Linked DNA regions of Homo sapiens: regions 2, 3, 4, 5, 6 and 7 are each linked to region 1. Evidence: promoter capture Hi-C in 16 types of primary human blood cells and fetal thymus (Javierre and others, 2016). All regions are on one chromosome and are shown on one strand. The core of a region is centred on a gene start or on the middle of the fragment in contact, and the rest is flanking DNA. Distances in the headings are between cores, read along the strand shown. Region 1 holds the start of RAB32 (RAB32, member RAS oncogene family). Region 2 overlaps STXBP5-AS1 (STXBP5 antisense RNA 1). Region 3 overlaps EPM2A-DT (EPM2A divergent transcript). Region 4 overlaps EPM2A-DT (EPM2A divergent transcript). Region 5 overlaps FBXO30 (F-box protein 30). Region 6 overlaps STXBP5 (syntaxin binding protein 5). Region 7 overlaps EPM2A-DT (EPM2A divergent transcript).

Region 1 (2,700 bases), core at 48-2,547:
CAAATCTTCGCAACTGTGAATAATGCTGCATGAACTTGAGAGCGATTTCTGAGATCCTGATTTCATTTCCTTTGAGTATACACCCAGAAGAGGGATAGCTGGGTCACTGGCTTTAGCAACGATTTTTGCAATATCACACCAAAAGCCCAGGCAACCAAAGCAAACCTAGATAAATGGGACTTCATCCAACTAAAATGCTTCTGCACCGCATAGGAAATAATCAACAAAATGAAAAAACAGCCTATAGATTGGGAGAAAATATTTGTGAGCCATATATCTGATAAGGGGTTAATATCCAAAATACATTACGTTCACAGAACTCAGCCAAAATAAATAAATAAAACACCCAGTTAACTAACGGGCAAAGGATGTGAATGGACTTTTTTTTTTTTTCCAGAGGAAGTACAAATTGCCAACAGGTATAAGAAAAGGCGCTCAAAATCACTAATGAACAGGGAAAAGCCACTAGGTATCTCCTCACACCTGCTAGGATGACTGTTATAAAAAAGATAAGCGATAATAAGTGTCGGTGATGTGCGGAGCAAAGGGAACCTTGTACACTGGTGGTGGGAATGCGGACTGGAACAGCCATTATGGAAAACCCTACGGAGGTTCACTCAAAAAGTTAAAAACAGAACTACCAGCCCAGTGTTATCCGTCCTTCGTTAAGTTCAAAGTCACGGTGCCACTTCCTTTCCCATCTAAAGGGGACTGCTCGCGACCCAAGCCAAGGCCCGCAAGTGTGGCTCTCCCTGCGGGGAGAGTAGGGCAGGAGGTGGATTTCCAGGCCAGAGGCTTCCAGGCTGGGCCCGGACCCCACGCCGACCCCGGCCCCGGGGGGGGCTCAGCGACCTCGGCGCCTCCTCAGGCCCCCAGTGAACCTCCGGGGCCCATAAAGGCTCCAGGCCGGCTCCCCGGAGGCCCACCAGCGGGCGTCTGGGCCTCCCTCCGCGCCGCGACCGCCAGGAGGCGCCGCCCGGGAGAGGAAGTCCAGCTGGGCCCGGCCGGGCTTCGGAGGCGCCGCCCGGGAGAGGAAGTCCAGTTGGGCCCGGCCGGGCTTCAGAGGCGCAGGGCGGGAGCCGCCTCGCGCAGGGTCCTCCCCAAGCCGGCGCCAGGCCCTGCCCTCGTCCGGCCCTGCCCTCGTCTGGCCCCGCCCGGGCCGCGAGCACTGGCGGGTTCTGGGTCCTGTGACCGGTCAGGCGGCGTCAGCGGGCGCGGCGGAGGGCTGGCCGGCCTCGGGGGAGTTTCCGCGGCCGCCGGGGGCGCGGCGGCAGAGCGCGAGGCCGGGCAGGGGGCCAGACTCGGAGTCGAGGCGCGCCCGACAGCCGCAGCGCTCATGGCGGGCGGAGGAGCCGGGGACCCCGGCCTGGGGGCGGCCGCCGCCCCAGCGCCCGAGACCCGCGAGCACCTCTTCAAGGTGCTGGTGATCGGCGAGCTTGGCGTGGGCAAGACCAGCATCATCAAGCGCTACGTCCACCAGCTCTTCTCCCAGCACTACCGGGCCACCATCGGGGTGGACTTCGCCCTCAAGGTCCTCAACTGGGACAGCAGGACTCTGGTGCGCCTGCAGCTGTGGGACATCGCGGGTAAGCGCGGCCGCGAGTTTCCCACTCCAGAGCCCCGCCGGGCCGCCTGGCTCCTCTCTGCTTCTTTTCTTTTTCTTTTCTGCCTGAACTCGTCTGCCTGGGTACCTTTAGGAGAAGAGAGAGGCCCAATCCAAGGGCGAGATGCGATGGACGCGGTCGGCTGGACTCGGTGGGGCCCAGAGGATGGGATGGGCAGTAGGAGTTGGAGCAGGTCCTGCACGCCAGAGCTCGCTCTCCTGAAGGGAGGCGAGGAGGCCAGGGGGCCTTTTCCAGAAGTTTGAACTCTGAATAATGCAAGTATATCATACATACACCAGGACTAGTTGAGAAGGCTGCTTTGGAGCGGGCCGGCGCCTCTCAGCCTCAACTCAAGTTCAGAGGGATTGGGTGACTTAACCCGAAGCTGCACTCCTAGTTAGTGACACCACCAAGACCAAAAGCCAGGTTCCTTTCCAGATCATTTTCCACCACCCGCCTTGGCTCTGAGACTGGCCTTTGTGAGGGAAACTCCATTCCTCAAATACTTTGCTCTCATCGGAAGCCGAGGACAGACACTCCGTGAAGATTTGGGAAAGCTTTTCTGAAACCTTACACTCACCCCTTCCTCTCTTGCTAAACCAACACCTAGTCCCATCCCTGGTGCCCTCGCCCCCCCCCGCCCCCCCCCCACTCCTCAATACAGTGTTTCTCTGCCATTTGCTTTCATTTGTTCTGTTTGAGGGGGTACATTTCCCTCTGCTCTGATTTATGAACACTTGAACTTTGCCTGGTGTGGTGGTTGGGAGTGGGCGTTTTAAAGATGATGTTAACTATTGGAAAGTTCATAGAAATGGTACCAAGCCAAGTGCCAGTGGCTCACGCCTGTAATCCCAGCACTTTGGAAGGCCTAGACTGGAGGATCGCATGAGCACAGGAGTTCGAGACCAGCCTGGGCTGTTAGTGAGACCCTGTCTCTACAAAATACATACATACATATATACATACATACATACAAAAAATTAGACAAGTGTGGTCGTGCGTGCCTGTAGTCCCAGCTACTCAGGAGCCTGAGGCAGGAGGATCACTTGACCCTAGGAGAGGTCAAGGCTTCAGTGAGCTGTGTTCTCACTGCTGT
Region 2 (2,700 bases), core at 118-2,617, 650 kb after region 1:
AGCCACTGCCTAGGAATTTATGTATCAATGATATGCACATTTTAGGCAAACTACAGATTACTAAATTTGGATGCTCTTGTAGGTCACTGGACACATCCTATATTAAGTTAGAAAAAACAAACTTCATGACTGAAAAGTAAATATGAATCATTTGAAATAATACAGGGCAGAGAATGTGACTCATTGATAGATGTAACCCACAGTGTCACTAAAATCTTCACGGTGTTTCCTTTACCCTCACAAATCTATTGGCCCTAATCAAAAATGTTTTTGGTTGACTGATAGTCTCAAACTACTTTGTTTTCACTTTCTTCTCAAAAGTGCAGTCATATCCAGCTGCTAAAAAATGATGTGAAGCAAAGAAACAGCCTGGTATCCCTTTTCTTTTTCTTCCTATAGTCTTGGAATGAAAGGATCATTTCTTATTTCATCACAACAAAAATGGAAAGAGGCATGGCACTCCATGCTGAAGGGTGAATAGTGACTATCTTGTATGCAAATGTGAAAACCCCCATTTACTTTAATTATGAAGCCACACCTTGAGGTTATACTGTCATTACGGTTATGAGGAAACCAAGGAAGGGAAGTTGTACTGGGGGCCTGTTGAACAAGGAGATTAAGTCTTGGTACAAATATTTGGGTCATGCTGACCTGGATGAAATTTAGTGGGAGTAGTTAGAGGTTCTGAATGAGTGACAAGGGATTGAATGATTTCAGGGAACTGCCTCCTCCACCCGCCACGTTTTCCAACCCTAAGAGTTCTATCCTTGGAGGCCCATGCTCTGGGACCAAGTACCGTGGTGATGAGTATATGCCCAGTGGGAGAGTGTTTCTACAGAGTGTGAAATGAGACAGAGTAATTATCCTCAGGAGAATAAAAACATGCCTTTGACATTGGGTTTGTCTTACCTTTCGGGGATTCTGCTTCCCTACCACTAAATTGCCATCCCATTGGTTACCAAAACCAAGTTGAATCATGTTTGTATTCCCCACAACATCCAGCAAGATACCTGTCACATAGTAGGCCCACAGTTAATGTTTGTGGGATGAAATACTAATGCTCACCCTGCTGGCAGGTAAACAAACACTAAGATTCAGACTTTTGATCCTCTATCTTGGAAAATGCACTAACACTATTACCTTCCATCCCTCCCTTGCTTTATAGACTTTAATCATTTTGTGTCCCCAACATCACGATTATTTTTTTCTCTCGATTTATTTATGGGCCAGGAATAGATTGGAACTAAAATACCAAAGTGTAAGTAGTTACATTGCTTGTCCTTCCTTTGTAAAGAATATTCGTTCTTTGTGCTTCTGACCTATTCACCATTTTTTCCCTTCCTGATTAGCTAAGGCTATCAGCTGAGTGTCAGGGAGAAGGGAGTATATAGTGCTACATAAGAAAATATATAGAACAGAACAGTCTAGGAGGTGAGATGAGGGGGTATTTGGAGAGAGCAAGTAAGCCATCCAGCAAAGGCTGGGCTTTCTGAGGAGAGAGGGACATGGGGGTGGCGGGGGAGTATTTGAAAAACTGCCCTGAGCTGGGGTAGAAGGTGGTGGGGAAGCTGATAAAAGGGTGAAGAGAACTCAGAGGATGTTTTTCTATGCTAAGTGTTTTATCTTCCTTCAAAAGTGGCCTTAACAGATTAAAACAATATCTAAATTGTTTTCCAAGTCTTTGGAGCTAGGGGTGTGTGTGTGTGTGTGTGTGTGTGTGTGTGTGTGTTTGCATGAAAGAGAGAAAGAGAGAGAGTATGCTGAGAATTAAAAGGCCCAGTTTTATTTGGGGTAGAGTCCATATTTTTTATATTCATTTTACTAACATTTTGGTTTACTAACATTTTGGTTAACTAACATGTTACCAGGTAATTTAATGGAGATTTTGCATTTAAAAAATTGCATTCCTAAAGGAACTTAGTTTGTGCCATTGGTCATAGAATCAGGAACAGTGTGATGGCTACTAAAGGTGGAATTGGGACTAGGGAAGTGTGAAAATAGAATAATAGAATGCCATAAAAAAAGAGCAGCTGATGCGGAAGCCTAAAGGTAGTTAGGAGGCCAGAAATTTACCCCAAAGTGGAAGCTGTTTGACCCGGGCTGGGGGAAGCAGGTACTCCAGTTTTAGGTCTGCAGGTACATTATCTTTGGACCAAGTGTGTAGTGTTTCCTACAAACACATTTTAAAAAATCCATTCTGAGTTTAAAGCTAGATACCTAGTCCTGCTTGGAGGAACTCCATCCCATGGATACAGACTGTGCTTTCCTACCTTCTGCAAAAAACTTCTAAGAGTTAATTAGCATCCTTTGCATGTTTTCATTGTTAGTATTAATATGATTCTCTTGGCTCTGATGGGTCTTTAGAGAAAGTGTTCCCACCCTCCTTATGTTAAGGTTTTTGTTTTGGTCCTTTTTGATTTCTTATGTGGTAATCTTTAGGGTTGACCAGAAAGAAAAGAGTTTGCATCTAAATGTTCCACAGTTCAGTGACTAAGAGGGGTGACACAGCCCCAGAGCCTACGATGGCAGGCACTGTTACATCGGTCTCAATTAACACTGTCTCACTGGGCTGCCCTGTCAGGCAACTCTCTCTGAGGGGAAAAAGCAGACAGTTTTCTATTAGTATGTTGGTGTTTAGTTACTGACCTATTTTTCAGATGAAGAGTACTACTTTGCGTGCTGCATAGTTTTTAATTAAAA
Region 3 (2,700 bases), core at 168-2,667, 690 kb before region 1:
GTGTTGGTGGTGGCTTAAAAACAACCTCTAAAGGTCCTTTCAGAAAAGGAGTTCAAATAAGTTTAAATTGATTTCTTACTTATTTTAATATGTGAAAAAAATCGTATAGTTTTATAAGCTTTGTAATGTCTTCGCAGAATTATGATTTACTACCAAGTATAATCTAAATTTCCACAGGATGGTTAGATTTAATTGAGGTATCATCATTCTACAAAGCCAAACTTCTGAATATCAGGATGTTCTAGTTGTGTCTACAATAAGCCAAAGAATTTAGAGAATTCTGCATTTGAATTTAGGGTTTTTCTTATGATTGGCCTAAGCATAAATATTTCATATGTTTTTCAAAAAAGAGACAATTCCAGAATATTTTTTCTTTTCAAATTTGTGTTTGGTCTAGTGGGAAGCATATATTCTAAGAAACAGAATTATAGATCTTTTCTAGGCAATAGAAAAATTATACACATTTATATGGGTTTATATTGATGTATGTTCCTATTGGAAAAAAATTGTCTTAATTCGTTCTTACTGGCATAGCAAAACTAGATAATCTCACTTTGCCAGTTACAGTGACCTTCTTTTACTTTATGGATCAAATAGGGGAAAAAGTTCTTGGCAGTAGCTGAACCTATTTCTGTTTCTGGAACACAGTTCCACAAAAGACCAACTTTTAAAGAAAAAATGAATAAAAACTAATAAACAATATATGTTCCTCTTCCTGATTCAACCTAGAAGCAGATGGAGAGGCCATGGAGGCAAGTCCTGTGCTTCTATAGGCCTGATTCCTGTTTCTAAAATTGGATCTAATTCTATCAGTTTATGTCTCCTGGGAAACAGACACCAAAATGTAATTAGAAGAGCAAGAAATTAATCAAGAGTAATTCCAGTGAAAGATAAAGGGGAAAAGGGAGTAGGAATAGACAGGGAAAGACTCAGACTGTGATGTAAGTCTGACCCCTGTGGAAAGGAGAATAGGAAGGAAGGAGGATTGGATATGACTAGCCTCAAAGGGCAATAAGTATAGTACTGACAAAACCTCGGCGAAGCAAGAGAGCTCTGGTGCAAACATTGACAGAGGAGGAGCTCTGCATAAGGGACAGATGGCTAGGCCCTGGTACATCATACCCAGGCATTGGCTGGGAGCTATCCAGTCTTCTGAGGGCATTAGAGCAGGAGGCTCTCAACTGACTGCACTACTCCAGGTGAATAGCAAGTTCTTTTTATCTGAGGGGTGCATCTTGACTTCCCATTAGTAGTGAGAGATATTCAAATTTAATATTTACACTTTTCTTGGAAGGCACCTTTAAAGATTTCTTTTGTAGTCTGCCTTATTCTTGCAAACTATGGGGATACCTTGGGCATATTAAATAGCATCAGAGTAAAGTTGGGCTCCTGAAGTCAACTCATTCACAAGAGTCATATCAGTATCCTGCATGCCATTGTTTTCTACTAAAAAGCCCCAAACTGGAAATTCTATGTTTTACGCAAGATAATGAGGTGCATTTGTAACACAAATTCTCATTGCTAAACTGAAGGAAATATAGCAAAACTGTCAAAAGTAATGTGTACTAATCATCTTTTGAATAATTGGAGCAAAGCCAAGATTGTTACAAAACATGATTGGTTGACGTGCTACCAGGGACATTTCATGCCCTGTGCAGTTCTGTGAAATCAGTTTGGATTGTGATCTTCTAGTCCCCATTCTCTTTTTTTTTTTTTACTAATCCAGCAATCCATCCTCAGTTGATAAAAAATTAATTTTAAATCACAGAGGTCATTTATAGCTAGTGTATTAGTCAGAGTTCTCCAGAGAGAGAGAGAGAAATTATGAGGAATTGGATCCCACAATTATGGAGGCTGAAAAGTCTCATAATCTGCAAGCTGGAGACCCAGTAAAGCCAGTGGTATAATTCCAGTCCAATTCTGAAGGCCCGAGAACCAGGGGAGCGGAAGGTGTAAATTTCAGTTCAAGTGCAGGAGAAGACTGATATCTCAGCTCAGGCAATCAGGCAGGAAGCAAAGGGGAAAAATTCCTCCTTCCTCCATTTTTTTTTTTTTTTTTGTTATTGTTCTATTTGGGCCTTCAACAGGTTGGATGGTGCCAACCTATACCAGTGACAACCATCTACTTTATTTATTGAGTCCACTGATTGAAATGCTAATCTCATGTGGAAATACCCCAATGGACGCAGCCAGAAATAATGTTTACTCTGAGCACACCATGGCACAGGTGAGTTGACGCATACAGTTAACCATCACACCTAGGAACACAGGAACAATCAATTCTGTTAAGGGGACTCAGGGGACCAAGAAAGGAACTATGAGATTTTGAGAAGGAAGGAGACATTTGCAAGGCTAGTGGGGAGGGGCATTTCAGGCAGAGAAAACAACAGTAGCAAGTCCTGGTCAACACGGAAGTCCAGGACATACTACTCAGGAAATAACTATTTTTCTGATGTGATAGAGAGACAGACAGAGAGAGAGAGAGAGAGAGAGAGAGAGAGAGAGAGAGACAGAGAGAGACACACAGAGAGAGAGACACAGAGAGAGAGAGAGACAGACAGAGAGTCTGTGTCTATGTGTGTTATGCGTGTGTTTATCTTGTGTGTGTTTTGTCTGGCAGGGAAGAGGGAAGAGGAAGAGTGGGTGGAATGAAATCATAGAGAGTGGCTGGAAGAGCTTTATTTTGGTTCTCATAGGTTT
Region 4 (2,700 bases), core at 1-2,500, 790 kb before region 1:
GAAAGACCTGTCAATAATATGCATTATAAGACTGATATCTTCAGAATTCAGGAATAAATGTGCTAAATTAAACAGAAGCATGGCCATAAAAATAAGCATGAAGCCTACGTTTATAACACAAGGGCTTAAGTCAGATTGATTTATTTCTTAACTAAGTTGTTCTTCAGTAAATTGGAATTTGGCAATATATCTTATTAATCATTAAAATACAACCAGTGCTTCAATAGTTTGAGATGCCAGATAGAAACTACTTGTGAAAATCCAAACCATAATTAGAGCAAGTTAAATAATTCATATCTATTTTAAAACATTTAAAACGTCCATTTTGTGATAATCATTTCTTTATTCTCTTTATAGTTTTATTTCTCACGTATACATTTATAATACGATTTTGTTTGGCTGAGGCTGTCAGCATCCCACCCATAGCCCTTGCTTTTAGCACTTCAATGCACACAGCTCTCAATGCCTAAGGTCTTTGCCCAGGAGCTTTCACTTGCTGTTAAAGCACATTTTGTTGTGCAACTGGACCAGAAGTGCTGAAAAATACCCATAGAGCACCCTTCAACAATGACGGATGGGAATTGGTATAAATGTACTCTGGCTCCATCGTCTCCTCTGCTGGGACAACTGAGGAGTGCTTCACACTGGCTCTCTGAGTTTATCTAGTGGGGTTAAGCTCCAGTTGTCCACAGTGGTAGTTGGTTATCTTCCTCGCCTTCCTACTAGGGTTGCCTTCATCCCACAAATAAACCATATGCATTTAAATCCTGATTTCAAAATCTGCTTCTGGGATAATTCAAACTAAAATAATTGATATCATACATTGCTCTATGGAGCAAATCTTCAGGATGGGATTCAGAAATTGAATAACTCCCTGGGCATAGAGCAACAAGAATCCCATTCCTAGTAGTATAGTATCAAATCTATAGACTCTCATTTGTGGAAGATTGGGTTCCCATACTTACGTAGTAGCTGTAGCATGAAAGAGACCCTACCCTCTTTGCCATAGCCAGAGGGAAGGCTGCTGAAAATCAGATGCAAGGTCTAATTGTGGAATTATTTAAATTTCAAATAATGCTAAATTCACAGCCCCAGCAATTCTCCTATGCCAAATACAGAGTCGTCATAAAGAAGAAATGGGACCCAGAGACCTGAAACAGAAACATCTGGTCTTCTGTGCTTGAAAATCTTGACCCCTCTGTGCTATGTAAGACCTCCACTCCCCCATGCTAGATAGCCTCTCCTTGCTTGGAGATCATGCAGAAGTCTCACTTAAGGAAGATCCAATATATAGATAACAAAGACAGAATAATAACCGAGGAACTCTTTCTCACAGATATCTGTGGTGATATCTAATAGCCATGGTGTTTTTAGAGGCAAGATGGGTAGGCATCCAACAAAGATGTTGCATGACATGTACAACCTATAAGAACAAGAGCAGAGCAGAAGACAGTCATTAGTCACCATAATAGAAAATTGTTTTCTTACTCAATTTCCAAACCAGAATCTATTCTGAAAACTAGAGCCCTTCAATTGAAGAGAATGCTAGATCCCCTTCCCCTTAAGGAAGAATTTTGTAATGCTACAGCCAAGTACTTAAATAGTGATTTCCCCATTCCTTCCCACTTAAGGGATATATGGCCATTTACCCCAGTCATTCTACACAGAAGAAAGGAGCACATCCATGACTTTTAAAATCTGTCCTTACTTCCACTCACGGCTTGTACAGCAGTTACTAGGGTTATGCCTCAACACAGCCTTACTGGCGATGAACTGCTCTTCCATGAGAGGAAACGAACTATGTACCAAACATTCTGCATGGCCTGGCTAATATGCATAAGCAGCAACTGAGAGGATATACCTGAAATTGAGGGAGTAGAATATAAACTGGATAAGGGTGAACTCATTGTGAAGGGCACTCTCCTGTAACTCAAGATATAGCATCTCAGCAAGGACTTATGGAGCCAGTCCTAATGCACTATTGGAATGGATCCTTGGGATTTGGGGAAAAAACACAGCATATAGTGAATGAGGCAAGATGTTGAAATTGCCTAATAGGAGTATTTAGAAAGGGATAAAAAGACAAAGGAATGAACATGCTGTAATGTATTCAGAATATAGGACCAGAGAAGCTACCAGCTGACCCTGTCTCTGGAGAGGGCCCCAAGAATACTCAACTTAGATTGGCTCCTTGACTCATGGAGTAAAATCATCATAACATAAAAGGTAGTAGAAAACAGTAGAAATCCTTGAAACTGCCTTCACTTCAGGCAAGACAGTAAATTAGAAACAACCAATCCTGGATGGAATGGCAGAGATTAATATCTCTCTCAAAAGTGTAAAGGATACAGGAACATCATATCTCCCTCTAATTCACCAATCTGGCCCTTGCAAAAACCATATGGATCATGATGGATGAGAGTAGACTACATCACAGTCTTTCTGGGACTCTGGTAGCTCTCCTGATCTCAAGCACAATATAGTCCAAAGGAACCTCAATCCTCTAGACATTTCTCAGAACATCGCCTCCAGCCGCAGTATTTGATGCAATCATTGGAACTGAGGATCATGAAGTTGCAATACTCCAAATGCCCTTGTAAGGCAAATGCACCTCAGAGGACTGGATATAATCCCTTCAAAGATTCAAGGGCCTGCAACACTAATGGAGGATTCAGAGATTTAGTGGTCTGTGGAATGCAG
Region 5 (2,700 bases), core at 34-2,533, 740 kb before region 1:
GTCGATGCTCATCAGCTTTACAAGAATGGAAAACTGCACCACAAACCAATGGACAACCAATCAAATCACAGGAAATCCCTGGCTCTGGCCTGGTCATGCACCGTCTACTGACACAATTCACACAATGGGAATGCTGCAGCTCCTCCTCCATAATGGCCAGTCCAGCTCTGGTTGATGAAATGGAAAAAGATAAGAAATTAGCCAAAAAATGGTTGATTTTTCAAAATTGTTTAATAATTAAATCACTAATTTATCTAATATCTTGGTTTATTTTAGGATGACATATATAAAATAAACATACTTAACCAGTTAATTTTACATATAATCAATGTCTTGAAAGGATGTAAGCACTTACATTCTAGTAACAATTCAATACTGTAGAATGTCATAACGGTTCATTTTTATATACTATATAACAATATGCCTAAAAGGGCAAAAGTTTCAAAATATACTATTTAAATTCTAATACTGTGTATTATTTAATGTTAAAAACAAGTTAATGTGTATTTTAGATTTCAGAGTGTTTTTCACTTTTACCTTTCTAATTTCAACTAAACTGATTTTGATTGTACCCCACATTTCAGAGATCTTGTATTACTAAAAGAACAATATGAATTTCATGAATATATTTAAAACTTTCTTAGAAGTCTTTTTTTATTCCTTCTAAATGAATTCATTTAAGATTTCATCTATTGATCTCTCCTTCTATATATGCCTTAATAAATTCTGCCACAAATTAAGTAAGTCTTAATTAGAACATACAAGGAATTTATCCAGAAAATAAAAGTTCAAGCTCAAGCTCTGTGGCTGTGGGCAAATAACTTACTTTTGAGGGCCACATTCATTCATTAAATGCCTATTTATTGTTTAACTATCATGGACCATGCACTGTGTTTGGTGTGGCAATATAAAGATTAGCAAGTCACAGTGCCTCCTCTCAAAAAGCTACAGCAGGATGTCAAAGACAGTAAAAAGTGTATCTCGTTTTTATGTGGTCAATTTGACAGAAGTAAAATGGTACCAATAGAGAAGATAATAATCAATATGAGTAGGGATTAGAGAATAAATCACAGTAGTCTTGAAAGAGAAGTCTTAAGTATGGGACGGTAAACTGGTAAGAAAGAGAGGCATTCAATGCAGAAGTAATAGCATATGCAAATACAGAAAAGCATGAATTAGCAAAACCTCAAGTTCCCTAGTATTGTTGGATCACAGGGGAAAATGCCAGGTATCTGTAAGAGATGAGGTCAGAAAGGAATAAGGCAAATCATGATGAGTGCTTTATGCTGCTCCAAAGAGTTCACACTTTTACAACTGGAAGTCACTGAGAATTTTAAGCAGAGAAATAGTTCTATAAAATAACATGAATGGATTATAGATGTCTAATGGTCTTCCCTGCTTTAAAATTTCCATCATAACCTTTATAAAGAAAAGTTTTATATGAAAAATAAAAGTCTAACCATAATATATTGACTTAATTATAATTATTGAGCCTATTCAATGTATTTTTAGTATAATCAACTTCTTTACTGGTGTGTTTCCTATTAGCAATAAAAACTTTAAAAGATTATTTAACCTTTAAAAACTAAAATAATAGTCACGGTGGCTCAAACCTGTAATCCCAGCACTTTGGGAGGCCAACATAGGAGGGTCATTTGAGGCCTGGAGTTCAAGACCAGCCTGGACAACATAGCAAGACCCTGTCTCTACAAAATAAAAACAAAAAAATTAGCCAGGCATAGTGACATGCACCTGTAGTCCCAACTACTTGGGAGGCCAAGGCAGGAGGCTCAAATGAGCCCAGGAGATTGAGGCTGCAGTAAGCCATGACTGTGCACCCCTGCATTCCAGCCTGGGTGACAGAGTGAGGCTCTGTCTCAAAAAATAATAATAATAATTGAAATAATAACATAATATCCCCCCTTTACCACCATTTTTTTTTTCTTATCCAGTCAAACTTTCAAAAGAAAAACTGAAAACCACCAAAAAAAAACGTCTAATTTCCTATATATTCTTTAACTCTCTATTCTGGCCCCATTTTTACTACCCCTATTAAAACTGCTCTGCTGAGAACCTCAATACTAAATCTGGAGGCATATTTTTCTAGACCCCATCTTCCTTGGCCATTGTATCCTGATGATGACTAATCCCTTATTTTAGGACTATTACATCCTCTTACTTTTCATGATGTCACTCCAGTCTTTCTCCTACCCTTAGTCTTCTTAACTATTACTCAATAATAATTATTTAAATATTGCATTTCTTCAGGGCTTGTGTCATTTTTTGCTTATTCTGTACATTCTCCCTGGGTGCTCTCATTTTCTCCAAAAGTTTCAATTACCATACATAAGCTGAAAATCCGTCTATACATGCTGCCCAGATTCCTCTTTCAAACTCCTCTTCACTCTCTACAATGGATTACTTATGATATATTTCTACTTGTATATGGCACAGGCAACTCAGTTCAACATTTCCAAAATTAAATTACATTGTAGTAGACAAGAATTTTCTGGATAGGAAGGTGATTCTTATCCTGTTTTCTTCACCTCAGTGCGTAAGAGATTATTAACTCTCTGACATATTTTTCCATAAAATCTATCTTGGCTCCAGGTAACTAATTAATCACTCCTCAATTGCTATTATCTTTTTCTCCAGTTGAGGTATGAGTTTTCTCAAACTAAAATAACAAAAGTGTACCTG
Region 6 (2,781 bases), core at 103-2,602, 670 kb after region 1:
TGGAAGTATATGTAAAAATATATATATGACAAATAAATGAAATGATAACATGCTGAGCATATTTCTTTATATTTATTGGAGCTATGATTTTAACGTGAGCATTCACCCAGAAAGGTTTTTAAATAAAAAATAGCTGATAATTTTTGTTTTATATTAATCTTCATTTGAAAAATAAGGTTTGCTTTATACAGCTTGTTATTTGTAAGATATATGACGAGTCCTAGAACTCACATGGTAGCTATTGTTAAACAGCAAGTTTTAAACAATTGGAGGTGTTTTAATAATAGTGTTTGGTCTTGTTTTTTATTTTCAAATAAGTGCAGTCTGGAACTTTGAAGCTTTTCCTTGTGAAGTTGTTTGTTGAGTGCTTAATCCTGCTCTTTCTTTAAAGTACGTAATCTTTTCTTGTGATGGCAGTACCTCTGCTGTTTCACAGCAGCTCTCTGTCAAAGGTGACTATAAATCTGGCCGCATCAGCTATTGCAGTACTTTCTGCTAAATGGTTTTCCTTTGTGCGTTTGTCTCTTTTTGTCTTTTGAAAAGGAAAAAAAAAAGTGTTGAAACAGATTTTTCCATCTGTTCAGTCTTTGTACTGTATTTTTCATAATGTGTTGTATTTTTCTTTTAAAATTCACTTAACATACTTGAGAAAAGAACTTAGCCATTAGGCATCTGGGAATGGATGCTGGGATAAAAAGCTGTTTTTACTTATATGTGAGAATTTACATTCTTTCTTGTTCATTTAACCCAGACCACTATTATTTATGACTACGTAGTAAATAGTAGTTTGAGCAAGTGGTTCCTTTAAAAGTATATTTATCTATCAAAAGCCATTCTAAAGAATTGCCTGTGATGACAAATATAATTCATTTTTGCCTCTTCAAAAACAGTCCTAACTCCAAAACAGTGAATATTAAGAATGATTGTTTTCAACCACTCTAATTTGTTCACAAATAATAAAAAATTTCTTACTAAAAATAATAGTGGAAGGAGGTAACTAGAGGCTTATTCCAACCCAGTGAATACTATAATTATGTATTAGTCTGAATGTTGCAATTACTTTTCTGTTTTGGTGCTTGTTTTATTCACATTAAAACAAAAAAGCAGTTGACCGACCTAAATTTTCAGATACTGTTGGACATTTGTAAAATGTTACAGTTGTCTTGACTTAAAGTTTTAAATGTTGATGTGCACATTTTTCATGGCTATTCTTAGCATCTTGTTAAATTTTTACTGCAGAAATAGTTCATTTTGTAGTTTTTCTTAAATGAGATTAGCAGAATATAAGCATTGAGTAAGCAGTAAAAATTAATTTTGCCTACTCTTATCATGATGATGTGGCTATCTTCATTTTTAATATATTTTCTAAATAGACTTCATTTTTTAGTGCAGTTTTAGGTTCACAGCAAAAGTAAGTGGAAGGTACAGAGATATTATATATACTCCCTGCCTGTCCCAAAACATTCGTAGCCTCCTCCATTATCAGCAGAGTGGTACATTGAATCTACATTGACACATCATTTTCATCCAAAGTCCATAGTTTATGATAGGGCTCATTCTTTGCACATTTTATGTGTTTAGACAAATATAATTACATGTCTTTCATCATTATAATATCATACAGAATATTCTCACTCTGCAGAGTTTTGTGCTGTTCTTCGTGTAGATCTTGTACATATTTGTTAGATTTATATTTAAGTATTTCATTTTTTGGGGTGCTAATATAAATTTCAAATAATTTCAAATTAATTATTTCAAATTCCACTGGTTCTTTTCTGGTATATAAGAAAATGAATGACTATGTTTTTTGGTTTTTTTTTCTTTTTTAGAGACAGTCTTGCTCTGTTTCCCAGGCTGGAGTGCAGTGGTACAAACACAGCTCACTGCAGCCTCGATCTCCTGGGCTCGAGCAATCCTTCCACCTCAGCCTCCTGAGTAACTGGGACCACAGGTGCACACCATCACACCCAACTAATTTTTAAATTTGTTGTAGAGACAAGGTCCTGGCATGTTGGCCAGGCTTGTCTTGAACTCCTGGGCTGCAGTGATCTCACATCCCAAAGTGCTGGGGTTTACTGGCATAAGCCACTGTGCCTGGGTGTGAATGAGTTTTGTATGTTAACCTTGCATATCCTGGCCACCTTGCTATAATCACATATTGGTTGCAGGAGTTTTTCTGTTCATTCTTTCTGATAGCTGCATAGTTGATCATGTTATCAATGAACAAAGAAAGTTTTCTTTCTTTCTTCCTAATCTATGTGCATACCTTTTATTTCCTTTGCTCATTGCATTAGCTGGTGCTCCCATTACAGTGTTGAAAGGCGTGATAAGAGGGATATCCTTGCCTTGTTTCTGATTGTAGTGGAGAAGCTTTGAGTGTTTTGCTATTAAGTGTGTTAGCTGTAGTTTTTATGTAGATGTTCTTTATCAAGTTGAGCAACTTCACCTGTATTCGTAGTTTACCGACAGTGTTTATCTGGAATGAGTGTTGGATTTTCTGCATCAGTTGATATAATCATGTGATTTTTCTTTTTTTAGAAAAATGTTTTCTAAATGTTTTCAAATGTTGAACTAGACTTGCATACCTGGTATAAATCCCATTTGGTCATGCTGTGTGATTCTTTTTATACACTGTTGAATTCAGTTTGGTAAAAATTGTATTGAGAATTTTTGCATCCATCTTCATGAGAAGGATTGATCTTAGTTTTCTTTTCTCGTAATGCCTTTGGTATTCATATTAGTGTAATGCTGGGCTCATAAAATGAGTTAGGATATATTTCC
Region 7 (2,789 bases), core at 141-2,640, 670 kb before region 1:
TAATAATAATAATAATGTGTGGGCAGATGTCATCTACACCATAGTTTCAGAATGCAATAAATTCACATTTAAAAACCTTGAAGTACACCGTATCAAAACTTTACTTCATCTTTCATTCTTATGTGATTCAGTTGATAGGCTGGAAGAACAATGAAAGTGAGTTCCATCATGCTGCCTGGTGTCCGTGTCCTTAATGATAAAGACTTTGAGTGTATTTGCAAACTCTCTGTTAATGACAGCATTTTTTTTTATTCTGAGCTTTATTAAGGTATAATTGACATACAAAAATTGTACATATTTAAGGTGTATAATGTAATGTTTTGATATACATATACATTCTGAAATGATTACCAAAATCAAGATAATTAACACATCCATCACCTCATAGTTATCCATTTAGCAAATCCTTTACTAGGTGGCAAAATTGATTTTAAAATCACATTTTTATCCCCTTGAAGTTTTTTCATCTGTAAATTTTCAAGGGCAGTCTTTTAATAGAATACAAACAGCTCATTCCTTATGTGGCTCCAAGCTGGCATTTCAGCATTGGGTTTAAACTTTAGAGCAACATATGAAAATCTCCTGAATAAACTTGTCAATGATTATGGTCATCAAAACTTAGTATGATCAAGGAAACTGGTTTTTGCATAATATTCTGAATATTTAAACTCCACAGAGCTTGAATAAATGAAGTACAAATTAAACATATCGATTTTTTTCTTTTGGTACATGGTCTATGTTATTGCAGATTAGCATCCCAAATCCCAAAATCCCAAATTTGAAATGCTTCAAAACTGAAACCTTTTGAGCACTGATATAAGTCTCAAGGGAAATGCATTTTGGATTTCAGATGCTCAACCAGTAAGCACATAATGCAAATATTAAAAAATCTGAAATCCAAAACACTTCTGGTCCCAAGATATGGGATACTCATCCTGTACCATGGTAAATGGTTAGTTCTTCCTTGGCTTATGCCAGTGGTTCTTGATTTAAGCCCCAGGAGATATTGGAAATTTCTGGAAACATTTTTGGTTGTCAAAGCTTGGGGGTGGAGTATGTTTCTGGCATCTAATGGGTAGAGGCCAGGGATGCTGCTCAATCTTATAATGCATAGGACAGGCCCCAGAAGAAAGAATTGCCTGGCCCAAAATGTCAATCACTAGTGCTGAGGTTGAGAATTCTTGACTTAGGCCATAGCCGTTCCACAGCTCAAGTCACAGTTGCATTCCTTTAGTTGAACCTTACAGTTCAGTTGTTCTACTCAATATTTGAATGCTGAAGGAAGACTGGCCCTCTAGGGTTGTATTTCTAGAACAGGGAGAATGTAGTACTTTGAGGTTGCATGCTTTAGAATTAGTCATTATGTGAGTTGGAAGACCATTTGATTCTTTATTAGAAGTTAGCAAGTGTGCCAGATTAGACCTTCACCCAAGAACGTCATGAGGGTTAATGAGAGGTTTTTAAAAGATAATAGTTATCTTTGTTTCATGTTTAACAACTTTATGCATTGGCTGGTCATTCCAGCTCCACAGAAAGCTCTTCAGTTGAGTTTCAATTACAGCCCGCAATTCCAGATGCTACAACATTTTAACTGTGGCTGCCAGATATCAGTGAGATTCACAGGCCTGGAGTACAACATTCTTTACAATGTGTGCTTCATATTTTGAAGGCCATCTGTCTCATTTTCATCTACAATTGGCTCTGCCGAAGTTTTGCATGCCAAATGATATTTTTTAAAATAAGCTTTTGTGCTACTTTAAAAATGTTTCAAAAATATCTTCGAGATACAATTCACACACCATGAAATTCAGCCATTTAAAGTGTACAAGTCAGTGGTTTTTAGTAGATTCACAAAGTTGTGCAACTATCACTACAGTCTAAATTTAGAACACTTTCATTACTCCATAAAGAAACCCCATGCCCATTAGCAGTCACTCCAGTTCCTCTCCTAGTCCTGGGCAACCACTAATGTAATTTCTGTCTCTAAAGATTTGCCTGTTCTTATGAGGAGTGGCGGTGTACACCTGTAGTCCCAGCTACTTGAGGAGGCCAAGGCAGGAGGATCATTTAAGCCCAGGAGTTTCAGGCTGCAGTGAATTATGATACTGCTACTGCACTCCCATCTGGGTGACAGAGTGAGAACCCATCCTCTAAAAAAAATAAAGATTTGCCTATTCTAGACATTTCTTATAAACAGAAATATACAGTATTTTGGGACTGCTTTTTTTCACTTAGCATAATGTTTTTAAGGTTCATCCATGTTGTAGCATGTATAAGTATTTCATTTCTTTTTTGTCCAAATCATATTCCATTAGAAGTATAACCATATTTGATTTATCCATTTATCGTTTGATAGGCATTTGGGTTGTTTCCACATTTGCCTACTATAAATAATGCTGCTATAAATATTCACATACAAGTTTTTCTGTGAACACATGTTTTCATTTCTCTCCATTATTATTATAGGCTGAACTGTGGCTCCACCAAATTCATAATTTGAAGTCCCAACCCCTAGTATCTCAGGATGTAACTGTATTTAAAGATAAGGTGTGTATAGAGGTGGTTATGCTAAAGTAAAGCTGCTAGGATGGGGGCTCTAATCCCGTATGAATAGTGTCCTTATAAAAAGCCATCAGGGGCCTGTCCGCACAGGGAAACACCATGTGAGGATACAGAAAACAACCATCTGCAAGAAAGGAGAGAGATCTTAGAAGAAAACAGACCTGCCAGCACTGTAATCTTCAACTGCCAGGCTCCAAAACTGTAATAAATAAATTTCTGTTGTTTAA

Evidence for each region. The method cuts DNA at HindIII sites, captures the fragments that hold promoters and counts their contacts. A CHiCAGO score of 5 or more calls a contact.
Region 2: a fragment that was not itself captured here is called in contact with the fragment with the promoter of RAB32 in region 1 in 1 of 17 cell types (neutrophils); the score reaches 5.1 in neutrophils.
Region 3: a fragment that was not itself captured here is called in contact with the fragment with the promoter of RAB32 in region 1 in 1 of 17 cell types (monocytes); the score reaches 5.6 in monocytes.
Region 4: a fragment that was not itself captured here is called in contact with the fragment with the promoter of RAB32 in region 1 in 1 of 17 cell types (monocytes); the score reaches 8.6 in monocytes.
Region 5: a fragment that was not itself captured here is called in contact with the fragment with the promoter of RAB32 in region 1 in 1 of 17 cell types (monocytes); the score reaches 5.5 in monocytes.
Region 6: a contact is called between a fragment that was not itself captured here and the fragment with the promoter of RAB32 in region 1, in 1 of 17 cell types (neutrophils). The highest score is 5.7, in neutrophils.
Region 7: a fragment that was not itself captured here is called in contact with the fragment with the promoter of RAB32 in region 1 in 2 of 17 cell types (M2 macrophages and monocytes); the score reaches 5.1 in M2 macrophages.

What each region holds. Positions count from the first base shown.
Region 1 is chr6:146,542,536-146,545,235 of GRCh38, forward strand. RAB32 (RAB32, member RAS oncogene family) reads left to right here and starts at 1,298. Exons shown (of 3, transcript NM_006834.5): 1 at 1,298-1,586. The coding sequence starts at 1,337. RefSeq lists a silencer at 872-1,251. The HindIII fragment of the contact is 5,944 bases long and covers 1-2,159 here.
Region 2 is chr6:147,195,158-147,197,857 of GRCh38, forward strand. The region is part of intron 1 of STXBP5-AS1 (STXBP5 antisense RNA 1); the gene reads right to left. Among named protein-coding and RNA genes, the nearest start is that of STXBP5, 7.9 kb to the right of the region's middle. The HindIII fragment of the contact is 3,605 bases long and covers 1-2,700 here.
Region 3 is chr6:145,847,848-145,850,547 of GRCh38, forward strand. The region is part of intron 2 of EPM2A-DT (EPM2A divergent transcript); the gene reads left to right. Among named protein-coding and RNA genes, the nearest start is that of FBXO30, 34 kb to the left of the region's middle. The HindIII fragment of the contact is 2,602 bases long and covers 117-2,700 here.
Region 4 is chr6:145,753,579-145,756,278 of GRCh38, forward strand. The region is part of intron 1 of EPM2A-DT (EPM2A divergent transcript); the gene reads left to right. It overlaps LOC105378039 (a long non-coding RNA gene), which reads right to left. Exons shown (of 3, transcript XR_007059799.1): 2 at 1,152-1,423. Among named protein-coding and RNA genes, the nearest start is that of EPM2A, 19 kb to the left of the region's middle. The HindIII fragment of the contact is 3,923 bases long and covers 1-2,700 here.
Region 5 is chr6:145,806,255-145,808,954 of GRCh38, forward strand. FBXO30 (F-box protein 30) reads right to left here. Exons shown (of 3, transcript NM_032145.5): 2 at 1-167. The coding sequence starts at 151. The region is part of intron 1 of EPM2A-DT (EPM2A divergent transcript); the gene reads left to right. Among named protein-coding and RNA genes, the nearest start is that of FBXO30, 7.2 kb to the right of the region's middle. The HindIII fragment of the contact is 3,628 bases long and covers 1-2,700 here.
Region 6 is chr6:147,216,673-147,219,453 of GRCh38, forward strand. All of the region lies in intron 2 of STXBP5 (syntaxin binding protein 5), which reads left to right. Among named protein-coding and RNA genes, the nearest start is that of STXBP5-AS1, 13 kb to the left of the region's middle. The HindIII fragment of the contact is 2,032 bases long and covers 337-2,368 here.
Region 7 is chr6:145,874,224-145,877,012 of GRCh38, forward strand. All of the region lies in intron 2 of EPM2A-DT (EPM2A divergent transcript), which reads left to right. It also overlaps a transcript of SHPRH not described here. Among named protein-coding and RNA genes, the nearest start is that of FBXO30, 61 kb to the left of the region's middle. The HindIII fragment of the contact is 702 bases long and covers 1,040-1,741 here.